Regions from separate parts of the Homo sapiens genome. Here region 2 is linked to region 1. The links are contacts of gene promoters, found by promoter capture Hi-C in human tissues and cell types (Jung and others, 2019). All regions are on one chromosome and are shown on one strand. The core of a region is centred on a gene start or on the middle of the fragment in contact, and the rest is flanking DNA. Distances in the headings are between cores, read along the strand shown. Region 1 holds the start of NAP1L1 (nucleosome assembly protein 1 like 1). Region 2 overlaps NAV3 (neuron navigator 3).

Evidence for each region. Contacts are between HindIII fragments. The study calls those that stand out against the background at their distance.
Region 2: a fragment that was not itself captured here is called in contact with the fragment with the promoter of NAP1L1 in region 1 in 1 of the 25 tissues and cell types used here (hippocampus).

Annotation. Positions count from the first base shown.
Region 1 is chr12:76,082,710-76,086,829 of GRCh38, forward strand. It overlaps NAP1L1 (nucleosome assembly protein 1 like 1), which reads right to left and starts at 1,976. Exons shown (of 15, transcript NM_004537.7): 1 at 1,858-1,976. LOC124902970 (a long non-coding RNA gene) reads left to right here and starts at 2,376. Exons shown (of 2, transcript XR_007063379.1): 1 at 2,376-2,458; 2 at 3,502-4,024. RefSeq lists silencers at 1,291-1,360, 1,411-1,470, 1,541-1,590, 1,731-1,810, 2,251-2,410 and an enhancer at 1,706-2,247. The HindIII fragment of the contact is 10,371 bases long and covers 416-4,120 here.
Region 2 is chr12:77,966,581-77,970,855 of GRCh38, forward strand. NAV3 (neuron navigator 3) reads left to right here. Exons shown (of 40, transcript NM_001024383.2): 5 at 1,939-2,122. Among named protein-coding and RNA genes, the nearest start is that of NAV3, 140 kb to the left of the region's middle. The HindIII fragment of the contact is 3,913 bases long and covers 1-3,832 here.

The sequences.
Region 1 (4,120 bases), core at 726-3,225:
AGTGCCTTGAAAATAACTGTAAAAGTCATTTACTTCCCTTCGATTTTTAAATGGTACCCTATACATAAAAGGTTTTTCCCTTATTCAATCAAAGGTAATGTATATTACTTCCAAAGTATAGGAGTATTAATTTAAGCTGACCAAAAAAAGAGGACCCAGATACTCGTTTCCAAAGATGTTTTGAATCCACCTATTTTCAAAAGGCCAAATTTCATTTTACAGCTCTTGTGAAACCAGGCAAGCAGTGTAAATTTTAAAATGCAGCAGTGGGATATCTTCAAATGTAGCAGTGAGATTTTTAAAATGTAGTTGTTTCAAAACTGATCAGTGACCGTCTAAAATACGGGCTCCTTGAGGACATCCTGCGCCTGGTTCATCCTTTTTGCACTCTCAAAGTCTAGCCTTCCCAGATGGGACCTCAGTCCCAGCCCCCCTACACTGCCATCCCCCAGATCTTTAGGGCAGTAGGGTTCATTGACAAGGTTGCAGGCTACAAACTTGGCAAAGTTTATACTAACACCTCATTCCATCCCACCTCCCATCTTAAAAAGGAAACCGTTAAGTATCTTATTCTAGTGACTTCAATAAAGGAACTAATTTATAAGACAGCCAAGAACAATTAAAGTCATAAAGGGCCAAACATTTTATTTTCATCTAAGAACCGTTTGCAGGGGTGGTCCGATCTTTTGGCTTCCCTGGGCCACACTAGAACTGTCTTGGGCCACACGTAAAATACATTAACTAGCTGATGAGCTTTTTTTTCCAAAAAAAAAAAAAAAAAAAAAACCTCATGAATTTGTGTTGGGCCACATTTAAAGCCGTCCTGGGCCGCGGGTTGGACAAGCTTGGTTTAGGGGTTTAGATCGATCAGGATCAATACTCCCCAAATAAAAAACCCTGATCAAGACACCCATCTAACAGTACCTGGGAAACACAATAACAACCTTTTGCTAATAACAGTTAATATAAGCGCTATATACGCGTTAACTTTTTAAAATACTAGCAGTGGAGGCCCTTCCTTATCATCAGCTAACATCCACAATCTCTGGTACCAATAAAAAGATTAAGACCAAAGAGAAGCAGGGAAGAGTTTGAAACCCAGGGACAGGGCTTACTCGCTTACCCTTCCTTTTCACATTCCACCGTCTCTACAACTTTCAAAGTAAGCACAGACCGAGGGCAAGGGTCTCCAACCAGGCCCAGCCAGTGGCCATGAAGCCCATTACCACGTGTGGAGCGAAGCCGCCGGGGGTTTCCCCTCCCCGCGCGGCCGCCCCCAATGGGCGGAGAGCCCGGGAGCGTCGCAGCCTCCCCCGCCCCCTCCCCGCCTCGGGGACTCGTCCCTCCACAGCCCCTCCCTCCCGTCGGAATTCGCAGCCTCCGCCGTTCTTTTCATCTCCCAGCGGCCTCCCTCCTGGTATTATTTTTGAGGGAAAAGCAGGGGGGTGTCCAAGAGGCGGCCGGCTCTGCACTCGGCCCGGCCCGTACGCCGGGGGCCTCCCGGTCCTCGCGGCGCAGCCGAGTCTCAGGGCACCCGGGCGTCACCGCGGCCTCGCTCCGGTCCACGCGGAAAAGACGGTGGAGCTCAGAGAACCTTAGGCCTCCAGGCCGCGCCAACCCCTACGTCGCCTCAGCCGTCCCCGATAAAAGCGCTGGTCGGCCCCGGGGCCCCTCTCAGGCTCCGGGGTCCGGACTCCGCGGTCCTGTCCGACCTCACAGGACGACCCCGGAGGCCACGGGCGGCCAGCGGCCCCGACTCCCGGCTCCCAGTCCCTCCATCCCTCCGGCCCTCCCATCTGCGCAGGCCGCCCAGCCAACACCACGTTCCCCCTTCCCTTCCAGGCCCCCATCCGTTACCGGCGACTAGTATGGGGAGCCAGGCGGCCGGAGCTGCGCAGGCAGTGACTCAGGGCGGCAGCGGCAGCAGCAGCGGGAGGAGCAGGAGGCGGCGCCGCGAGCAGATGGCGCTAAAAAAGACCCAAGAGCCCGCCGCTCGCGCTCATATACAATTAGCGTCAGCACGTAGGGCCCTTTCGCCGCCCTCCTCCCGGCCTTGTAGTCTCCCAGCAACGCGAGCGAGAGGCGGGTCCAGGCCGGGTTGCCTAGCAACTGAACCGTCCTCCTTCCCCGGCGACCTCCATACCCCCACCGAGGACTCCTGCAGCCCCGAGGCCCAGGCGCCGCGCTTGGGCTCCTCTGGTTCCCGCCGGTGTCTAACCTCCTCTGTTAAGCACCCCACCATATCTTTTCTCCCTGCTGAGCCGGAAAGGAAATTTCAACCCCATCAGTTGTGGGGAAGGCCTGGCCCGCGTGCCCGGCGCCCGGCCCGCCCCGCCCCCTTCGGCGTTGTGCTGGGAACGCTCAGGGCTGGCGCCAGTCGCCTGGTCCCTCGCTCGCCGCAGCCTAGACGGCGGACGCTCCCTGTCAAGGCCTAATTCCTGCAACTCGCCGGCCCCCGGTAACCGTTTTCCTTCCCCGCCTAAGAAAAACAGTTTTTTCCTCTAGACCACTTCGGCGGCCTCTTCTGACAGTTTTGCTTCTCCTATGCCAGCGGGTCTCCGCGCCTTTAGGGGGTGCTCGTCATCCTTTGCCCCCCAACCCCCCGCCACATCCTCGTAACTGATGTACAGTCCGTCAGTTCGGCTTCAGTTCTTTTGACGGATGAAAATGGCATATTTGTGCATTCTCTGGATGCGTTATAATGAGGACACTCAGTACGTCCGTTGTTTCATCTTTCTGAAAAAGTAAATCACATTAAATCCTCAGGCTTGTAAAACCTCATAGCTAATTTTCAAGTGATGATGAATTGACTAATACTAACTCAAAAAGTTGTTCTCAGAGTATGGTCTGAGGGTCCCCAGACCCTTTCATGGGGAAGGTCAAAACTATTTCCATATTAATGTCAAGACTGCCTTTTGCATTCTCATTCTCTCACAAGTGTACAGTGGGGTTTTCCGGAGGCTACGTGACATGTGATAAGGAAACAGACTGAAAATAGAAGCAGATAGGAGAATCCAGTCATCTGCGGTTAAACCAGACGTTAAAGAGATTTGCAAAAACTCGATTTGGGGGCAAGGGGGAGTAGTTATTTTTCATATAAAAATTATTTTTTGTTAATATTTGATTGCTTTATTGTTTTTAAATGAAATACTCTTAAAATTTCTCACTTTTAATTTCTGATATAAATATCAGTATCAGTAATGCACATAAAAGTTCTTTGGGGTCCTCAACTTTTAAAGGAGTGTAAAGGAATCCTAAGACCACAAAGTTTGAGAACCTCTTCTCTAAATCTTGCATTTATTGAAACTTCAAACTGCCTAGAATCCCCTATTGTAATCCACACATTTAGCAACTTTATCTTCCGTTTTAGGGGATACAATGTTTTCCTTGGCCCTCCAGAACCTCATTGAAATTATTTGCCTTCCCACTCTATACTGCAGACGACTCTGTTTATTCATTCATTTTAGTTTTTCATATACAATTCCTTTGTTGTTCTCATAGCCTATTCCTGTACACCCTTCTCAACAATGATGTAATGATACAAGGAGCATAATAGCATCAATAATGGATCTTCAGGAAGAACCCACTATACATAAACAAGGTAGACCAGTGCTCAGTTTGAACATAAATTTGACACATTAATTTCAATAAGAACTTCAGGAATGTTGCATTTTAATCAAAGCTGTGCACGATGCAAGGTAATTAGCATATTAAAATGAACTAAATAACTTTCACTTTCTTTCCATAAATCTTTATGGTAGCAGAATTTCTGAGACAAAATTGAGAAGTTAGCTTTTGTGGTGGTTTTTATCCCACACCAGAGAGCCTCATCAATTTTCGGCACTTCGCTCATGAAGGCTCTGGATTTTTTAGGTTTCACCACCCCCCCACCAACCCCTATAACTTAGGTGTTATCATTACCAGTACATATGCTCTTTCCCCCTTTTCTCCAGCTTCCTCTTCTTTTTTCAGTGTATCCTAGCCAATCTAAGAAACTAAACAATAAAATATTTCTAATAATGCATGCCTTTGTAATATAGTCTTTTGAACCAGTTTGTAAATCTAAGTCTTTGCCATTAAAGTTCAGGGAAGGGCAGACATTTATGCATTCATTCAACAA
Region 2 (4,275 bases), core at 626-3,125, 1.9 Mb after region 1:
GTATAATTAGATTTCTTAAGTAGATGAATAGATAATTAGATAAATGTTGGATGGACATAAATACAGGTAAAATATTTTAATTAAGGCTTAAAATATTATTTTATCAATAACATTTCTATAATATATTCAAGTTGGTAGAAATAGTCAAAATAGTTGGTAAGTTTAAGTCACTATGAAGTCTTAAATAATTAGAACTAACAGCGTTAATCACTGTTATATATAAATGTTTTAAATCATTAAAGATTCAAAAGATCATCACTAAAATTGAAAGAGAGCAAAATGGGGAAAACTTGAACAAATTTTGACATTGATCTTTTTTCTGAGTTTATTTTACTTTCACTTATAAAGGTGGCAAAAGTTTGCAAAAGCTTGCTACACTTAAGATAAAATTTGCCATACTTGAGAACACTGATATTTAAATTTCTTTTATATTTGCTTGTTATGATATATAATTAAATTACACATTTAATGACCAAGAAGCTTAGGTTCAAACCTAACTGGTAGTTCTGTAACTTCGAATAACATTTGAGTAAAATTCCCCAGGATAATATGTTGCTAAGTAGTTACAGGCTAGAAATGCTGCCATTTATTCACTTTTTATGTCTCTTCCTTATGAAAACCTTTATTAATATCAGCCTATTGATTTTCATTCATCTTTAAAATATACATGAATGCTCAAAATTTACTCTCTAAATTAGTTAAACATGCAAAATAATAAAACAATAATTTTTTAAAGACTCTTTAAACAAAATCTTTCAGGTTTATAGGAGAAAATTAACACTCTCTCACTGTAGCCTCAGATTGATGAAGCCAACTCTTCAATATGACGAAAACTATGAGAAATGTTTGGGGGAAAAATAGAACAACTCAGAGGGTCATTTTATATTAATTATTTTACTGCATAGTTTGAGTTATATGATAAACCATCAGAGAGCAAGAAATCCAAAGAGTTGGTTAATTTTCCTAAACTCCAAAAGGGGACATAAAACCTTAATCTCAGAGGAGGATGCATTTTATTGCCAACATCAAGTTTTATTTAAAATATGATTACAGGTTGTGTAGCTTATTTTCAAGCTTTACATCCTTCTCTTTTCCTATTTTTTTAAGTTATAACTACAGGAGAAAAATGTAGGCTTATGTGTACCCTACATTGTGAATTGAATTTTTTTATTCAATATTTGAAAATCTTACACAGCAACTTCATCTGTTAGAACAAGGATTTCTGCTTATTCAATTATGTTATCTGACGTAAGCTAATCCTCCTTATTTATTAATATATAGCATAAATTAAAAATAAAAGAATTGGAACATTAAAAATTGATATGTCTGCTTTTGGAAGATATACCTACACATACATTTTGATATATATGGATATATATTTGGAGGATATATACATACATAAATATGTATAAATGAGTTGGTGAGTGGGTGATTTAGAAAGAAAGTTGATTGCAACAAATCCAGTTGGTATTAGGAGGTGCACCCACATCATCAATATTTATAAATGCAGGACAACCAACATTTAAGTGGCTTTCTTTCTCCAGTTCGTAGCCACTGCTATGCTGGCAACAGCTGTGTATATTTGTGAGGGAATCAACATGCTAAATCAAATGGTTAGCACAAGAGAGAGCTCATTTATTTCTAAGAAGCAGCTAACTCGAGAAAAATTGTAGTTCAAGGTCAGCAAAGAATATCACTTCTGAGTGTGCTTTGTTCTTTTTACCCTCTATCCTTTTATTCTCTCCCTGAAATTCCAAGTTATTTGGAAATGTTAACATGTTTCAGAAATTCAGGTTTGTTTGTGATTCAACTGTGACTGAGAGAATTAAGTTGTATCTCTGTCTTCATAGATTTATTTCAAGAGAAATGCATCTAGAATTTGTTAAAAAGGACATTAAATACATATGATTCTTTTTTTGTATTTTTCATTTCATACAGAAATAAGAAATGGAAACTTAAAAGCCATTCTAGGGCTGTTTTTCAGTTTATCTCGCTACAAGCAGCAACAACACCATCAACAACAGTACTATCAGTCCTTGGTGGAACTTCAGCAGCGAGTTACTCACGCTTCCCCTCCATCGGAAGCCAGCCAGGCCAAAACCCAGCAAGATATGCAGTCCAGGTAAGGAAAGGAAGTAGGGAATGTGTTTCCAATTAGTTTGTGTAGATACAACTTGTTTTTAACAAATTATTGTCCATGAGTTTGAAAAACGTACTCATGTGCTTGTATCAGTGTGATGGGATTATTTGACTTGTGTAATAGAAACTAAAACCACTCTTGTTTTGCTTGGACAAGCAACATCTATCATCTTTTGGGTGACGTATTTTGTTTGTTTTCTAAAGATTGTTGTTCTGTATCACAGTGTGAAATGTCTTTGGTGTAAGTAATGTGGCATGACTACTTTCTTCTACAAATGACTTTAGTATTTAGAATGTGCTATTGAGTCCTAGTCTCCTGTCATGTAGTTATCTTTCATTGATATTTTTGATTAATTAAGTCTGTCAGAAATTTCAGGTCTGTTAAACATAGGAGTTTGAAGTTTGGGAACATAGTGTTTTTGATGTGTGTGTGTGTGTGTGTGTGTGTGTGCATGAGTGTGTGTGTGTATGTGTGTATGCACATACATGTATTATTTGTCTGGCTTGAGTCTTTTGGCATATGTAGACACAGCCTGGTGGAGTGCTCCCAAATCATGGCAACTTCCTTTTCTCTTCCATTATTATTATTTTTTTCCAATATAGAATTATATCAATCAGTGTTCAACTAGAGGAGTCAAGCAAGTAAATGATATATAACAAGAGATTTATTGTGAAGAATTGGTTTAGCATGATTGAGCATACTGGTTAGGCAAGTATGAAATCTGAAGGGCAGCCCAGCTGGAAGGGCAGGCTAGAAATCTCATCATGAGTTGAAATTGCAGTACGCAGGTAGAATTTCTCCTCTGAAGGAAGCCTCAGTTCTGCTTTTGAAAAGCCAAACTTTCGGCCAGGCACGATGGCTCAAGCCTGTATTCCCAGCACTTTGGGAGGCCGAGGTGGATGTATCACAAGGTCAGGAGTTCAAGACCAGCCTGGCCAAGATGGTGAAACCCCATCTCTATGAAAAATACAAAAAGCAGCCAGGTGTGGTGACAGGTGCGTGTAATCCCAGCTACTCTGGAGGCTGAGGCAGAGAATTGCTTGAACCAGGGAGGCAGAGGTTGCGGTGAGCCAAGATCCAGCCTGGGTGACAGAGCGAGACTCTGTCTAAAGTAAACAAACAAACAAACAAAAGAACTTTCTTTCAACTAGTTGAATCAAGATCACCCAGATTATCTAAAGTAAACTTTACTGAAAGTCAATTGATTATAGACTTTTATTACATCCTTAAAATATCTACATAGCAACAACTAGACTAGTATTTGAAGGAATAATTTAGACTATAGTCTAACATAGTTTACATATCAAAATAAATGATCACAGAATGAAGTTTCACTTAACAACTTTCATACAAGCTACTATATTTGTTCCTGAACAATGACTGGGGTATTGGTTAGTTAGCTCTATTACATAAATAGTTATGATTATTTTTCTTGAGGAGAGAGGATATGAAAATCCCTTTCATCGTCTTTGAAAATATAAACACTTGTCAACAAATGTAAATATTTAACTTTGTCCACCTTAGAAGTCAAGCTTGAAACCTACTAACATTCAGTTAACCTTGAGTTTGGTAATTAGAAATGACTCAAACAATTAAAATAATGTTCCAAAGTACATTTATGGACCACCTCCCACTTACTGTCAGTTGTTCAACTGTTCAGAAATCACTTCTCTTTCATCTACCAACCAACCCTCATATGGATTTTGTTTGTTACTCCATAATAAACAATATTTATTTCTCTATACAACCATGTAAATTTGGTTCCCTTTGGAAGATTTTCACTCATCAGTGAATTTTTAAATAAATTTTAAAAAGCTATAGTTTTACTAAAAACATAGCATAAAATATAAAGCTTATGAAGTGATGGGGGATATTTTTTATTATAAAATAATGCAGATATTTGACTGTTCTTTAAGCTCATCTTGGCTTTTGGTTATATCAAGTGAGATTGTATAAGACTCATAGTGGAAAATAAATCTCTATAGGCTAAGTTTCTTGGATGTTTGTAAGCATATAGAAGAACAAAGTGGATGACATCGTGTTTTATGTGTTATTATTTTTTGTGTGGATGTTTGCAACAAAGAGATGGATTCTGAAAAGTGCCAGAAATAATATTTACTAGAGTTTGGTTTAAG